Regions from separate parts of the Homo sapiens genome. Here region 1 is linked to region 2. The links are contacts of gene promoters, found by promoter capture Hi-C in human tissues and cell types (Jung and others, 2019). All regions are on one chromosome and are shown on one strand. Each heading gives the region's core, a stretch centred on a gene start or on the middle of the fragment in contact. The rest is flanking DNA. Distances are from core to core; before and after follow the strand shown. Region 1 overlaps PDE3A (phosphodiesterase 3A). Region 2 holds the start of SLCO1B3 (solute carrier organic anion transporter family member 1B3).

Evidence for each region. Contacts are between HindIII fragments. The study calls those that stand out against the background at their distance.
Region 1: a contact is called between a fragment that was not itself captured here and the fragment with the promoter of SLCO1B3 in region 2, in 1 of the 25 tissues and cell types used here (hippocampus).

Annotation. Positions count from the first base shown.
Region 1 is chr12:20,641,937-20,644,636 of GRCh38, reverse strand. All of the region lies in intron 10 of PDE3A (phosphodiesterase 3A), which reads right to left. Among named protein-coding and RNA genes, the nearest start is that of SLCO1C1, 52 kb to the left of the region's middle. The HindIII fragment of the contact is 6,217 bases long and covers 1-2,700 here.
Region 2 is chr12:20,809,299-20,811,998 of GRCh38, reverse strand. It overlaps SLCO1B3 (solute carrier organic anion transporter family member 1B3), which reads right to left and starts at 1,294. Exons shown (of 16, transcript NM_019844.4): 1 at 1,235-1,294. The HindIII fragment of the contact is 19,974 bases long and covers 1-2,700 here.

The DNA.
Region 1 (2,700 bases), core at 35-2,534, 170 kb after region 2:
TCACAGGCAAGAGAATTACGATCATATTTTATGTCTGTACTTGGGCTATTTATGAAATTGATCATACTAGAATTTTCTGGATTTGGGACAGGTGTGCTTTTACCTCTGCTATAATATTATCCATGCTAACTTGGGTGAGTTACTTAAAATCCACTTCCTTATCTTAAAAATAAGACAGAGTAAAAAGTCTTATTTATCTTAAAAATACGGGAATAATATTGCCAAATTCATGGTACAATTGTGACAATTACATTAGGAAATATATTTTAAAGGGCCAGATACACGGTGAATTTGTAATTTGTGTAAACATTATTCATGTAAAATAAATTGCTGCTGTAGAACAAGACAGAACTAGTATAGATCACCAGCTTTCTCCCAGAATCAATGCTGGATTTGTAAGAATAAAATAAAATATCTTCTGCCTCCATCGGTAGAAGATAGTAATGACCTGTTATGGTAGGAAAATGGCAGTCTGGGAGTAGGGTTCCACTTTTGGGAGATATGTTGGAAGCCAGCTTCTTAAATTATCTTCTCCTGTTGCAAGCTGGGAAGATTACTATATGCCAGTAGTTACTATTATTGTTGCAAGTCAGAGAAACCTGTGCATGAGCATAGCAGTACGGAGGTGGATGGGGGGCAGTATCACAGTGTTGGCAGAGCCTGTTTGGGGTAAGGAATTGATAACATCTATTCCAGGTGAACTTGCAGCTTTTGAGCTCTAATCCTTTTGAGCTCTAATCCACCCTGTCCCCCACCCCAAGGCCCAGGCCCAGAAAACTTTATAGGTAATGTTTTATTTTAAAAAAACAAAAAAACAAAAAACAAACTTTCAACAAGCAATTAATCCTAAGTAAATAATCTAGTGCCGAAAATACAAGAAGAAAAGCTGCCAAACTCATTTTATGAGGCTGGTACAATCTTGATTTAAAAACGAGGTAAAGACAGTATGTATATTTAAACATGTTCCTTTTGCTTTCGAGTACAGGTTTAAAAGTACTAAATAAAAAAAAAATCACTAACCAAATCCAGCTGCTTATCTAAACATATACATCTAGTTATATGTGTGTATGTGTAGGAGAATAATACTGTCATCAATCACTTAGATTGAAGAATAGAAAACCATCTGTCCTGTTAGCAGTCAGTGACATGTTTATTAATCAAATATTCACTTAGCATGTACTCAGTATTATGCCAAGTGCTGGCATCTCCATTGTTCTTGTCATTAATTCTCTGGTAACCCAACCCAGGAGCAAAGACACCCAGGAAAGAAGCTAGCAAGGTCAATGTAAGTTACTGACAGGTTTCTATGTAATACATAAAAATGCTCAAAGATTCCTCTTCTTCTTCTGGCCAGGGTAGGCAACTGAGAAGGATAAGAAATGCTATCAGAGCTATCCTTATTTTATCCTTATTCTCATCATACTTCTTCCTTCATCTCTGCATTTTGGACAAACCCCTAGCCTTCTCGATGACACCTTCACTCATGTGGCAACCCCCTCGCCCTCTTTAATAACATATAGACGCACATGCATACACTAGCACATGGTACACCCTACCTCTTTCCCAGAGTCCGCCCATCTCCCTCTTCCGTCTTGATACACTTGTTTTCTCAACTTTCTCCTTTTCCCTCAAGCACAGAGTTGAAGTGAGCTGGTATGGAGGGTTGGAGTTGTATGTAAATTCACAGATTTTAAGATCCAAATTTATATATTTTGTATTTAAAATTTTGTCTATGCTCCTATGCACCATAGGGTAAGAAGAAGTAATAAAGAATAGAGGTAACACTTTAAATATTTTTTTTTCTTTTGGAATATAGTTAATACTCTGGTAGTTCTGCCCCTCTAGCATGTACCATGTCACTTCAATATCTAGCTTTAAAATCAGTGGGCACATCATGTACAGCTGAATTGAACTGAACTAAATATAGGTTGAGCAGGACTATTCTCATTGCTGCCATGAAATAGCTACATGATCACAGGTACTTCTGAGGCATTCTCCCCACTTCTCAAACTTAAATCAGAATGAGAGGTGTTAGGGAGAATATGCTTTAGAGAGGAAACTCTTTGAAAATAAAAACTACCTTCAAAAATAACTGGATCGATGAATGAATATGAATGGATTTTTTATTAAGTAAAATGCCCAACTGAAAGGGACTATGAATGACACCAAACATTATTTATCTCCTTATGCAATTGGGTATTCACCATACATTAATTTATCCTAAGTTTGATTGAACAAATACATTTTTATCACATTTATATTATTGAGTTGACCATATTTCTTGTCTTTCTATTGCTACTACCATGAAATTACTTTAATTCTCTGTTTAAATCTAGATTCTTCAATTTTTGTAAGGATTCTAATTACAAATTTAAAAGCTTTCCTACTTACCCTCTTTTCTTGAAAACCGTTAAAGGTACACTTAGAACTATAATAAGAAATTTAGTTTCTAATATTTGCACACATTATCATATTAAAGTTAAACCAACCCCATTTTAACTTTGGTTCCTCTTATGCTTCTTTTCAACTAAGGATTTATTTAGATAGGACCATTAGAAATATAGTCCAAAATAAATATTAAAACAAGTAGGTATACAGCAAATTTTTGTATGTGCTGATTATAACTAATGATAAGTGAAGATTTTAATAAATATTCATATTAATTTACAATCTCAGCACATATGAAATATTATTAGATAA
Region 2 (2,700 bases), core at 45-2,544:
GAGGCTGAGGTTGTGGTGAGCTGAAATCACGCCATTGCACTCCAGCCTGGGCAACAAGAGCGAAACTCCTTCTCAAAAAAAAAAAAAAAAAAATGTATCAAGTAAGTACAAAGTACCTACAAAACTTGAATATCAATTTAGCCTTGAATAAATACCACACTTTTTACTTCATTGTGGCATTTTAAGCCTTATTTAGAAGCGTTTAATATATTTTGCTCTGAACATATTATTTCTGAGTTCCAAATTATTGACATAAATAAATGTTGAGGACACAATATGTTTATAGACAGAGCCACAGGCATTTGTATGCAGCATTGCAACTCTTCCCTGAACAGAACAGGTCAGTTCTTCACAGTTTGATTGGGCTGAAGTAGAGGGCAGAATCTTACCAGCCTCTGCTTATTTCTGTTTAGCTTTTCATATTTAAGGGGTTATAGAAAACCAGTGCAGGCCAAGTGACCCAGTTTCTAGCATGTACCTATGGAACTGAGGAGGATAAAAGGGAAAACAGCATTTCCTAACTTCTTAGATTGTTCAGAGGAGAGAATTTCTGCATCCCCACCTTACTTTCACAATAAAAATAACTGTCTTATCAGGGAAGCCACCTTCCTGAATGGGTGAAGGGGACCATTATTTATTGAGCTGTTAATTCTTTCCAAGAGCTGTGCCCAGAAGATTTTTTTCTCTTATTTGAACAGAGATAAAAAAGTTATCTAGAAAATCTCTTTCCCCTCACCCTAAATCAAACGAGTTGAATGGAGGAAAGTGAGGTGATTAAGTGACTTTGAAACATATTTTCCACCCCTCCACCCGCCCACTCCTACTTATCCAGTTAAAGTGAAATCAAAGAAATAGGGAGCCTGGTATAGTAATTCAATACAGTTTATACAAATAATTATCTTATAGTATATTTTAAGAGAGTAACTAGAAGTCCATCCTTTCAGACTTCATGTTTCATTTGTTTAGAAAGCAATAGAAATAGGACTCCAAACTTTATTTTTCACTTTATAAAGGTATGATTTACTCTTATTTTTGAGTATATAAATCTGAGGCTCTTCTATTTCTAGAAGGGATATTTACAAGGCTTTAAGGGCTCAGAACAAAAGTGTGGAGAAGACACAGAGCATAAAATCTGTAATATTTATCATAACTACCAAAAACATTTTCACTGAAATTTGTTAAAATTTCTTACATAAAAGAAATGTTTTAATTAGACAACCTCGACGGTTCTTACCTTGACTTTGAATGCTACAGCAACTGCAACAAGTCCATCCTTTTTCTGATGTTAAAGTCTCACTTTAAATGGTTAGTTGGCTTTTTATTTGTTTGTTTTTATGAGTCCAATGATGATTAACCATCTTATTAGGTCATTGTCCTAGGCAAACAGAAAAAACATACCTAGCTAATTCTAGGAGTTCACCCCAGAAGCCTATCTTTTAAACATTTTATTAATAATTTCTCAGAATGTACACATTATGTTAACATTAGAAAATAAATTATTTCTGGGAATGATTTATTTCTTATTCAATTAAGTTGGTTGCATAAGATTTTCTTCTTTAGAAATACAAATACAACACATTATCCAAAGTATTTAAAACTATTCCAAATAGAAAATATGTCAAGGCGATTTTTTAAAATGTCCCTACATGTTACATTAGCATTCAAAAAATAAAACATACCCTCTTTGCTTGTTACATGTGTATGGATCTAATATGACGTACATGGACACTGGATATCTCACATGGAATACTAAATTGCCAATTAATTACAAGACTAGTCTTCTAAATGACAAAAATCAAGACTAGTTTGTATGATATATTCCTTACATCAATGTGTAAAGGAAGAATGATCTCCTTCTATTGACTTGCTCTTTAGAGAATGGAAGACCTTCACTCAGTTGAAACTTTTCTTGAGTAAGGATGAAGTCAAATTAATTAATTCAGTAACTCAAACATATTTGACTCCCTACTATATCTCAGGCACATGGCTGTGTTTTAGAAGTGTACTATAAAAATATAAATAATAAACGGAGTCTTCTCTCACATGTATATATACACACACATGCATGAGTGTATGTATATATGTATTTATGTGTATGTGTGTATGTATATAGCAAAGAGAGAATGCATGTATGAAAACATTGTTACCCCTTATCACTGACAGGACAGTTGTTGATACAGTTGCAGCAATATGTATTTAATTTCTATATCACAGTTATTTGATAAACTAGTTTTTTTTTTTTTTTTTGAGACGGAGTCTTGCTCTGTCACCCAGGCTGGAGTGCAGCGGCACGATCTCGGCTCACTGCAAGCTCCGCCTCCCGGGTTCACGCCATTCTCCTGCCTCAGTCTCCCGAGTAGCTGGCACTACAAGCGCCCGCCACCACGCCCGGCTAATTTTTTCGTATTTTTAGTAGAGACGGGGTTTCACCATGTTAGCCAGGATGGTCTCGATCTCCTGACCTCGTGATCTGCCCACCTCGGCCTCCCAAAGTGCTAGGATTACAGGCGTGAGCCACTGCGCCCAGCCTAGATTAGTTCTATACCTGGTTAATTCATGGAAGTATTAGAATAATGAAAGGAACCGGAGTGTGGAGGGAGAGAAGGATTAGAAAATGTGGGGAACACTGAAGTGTAGACCTGGGGCAGGGAAAATTAGATATAGGCTCCCAAACACCCCTCTGTTGAGTCAAAATCTACT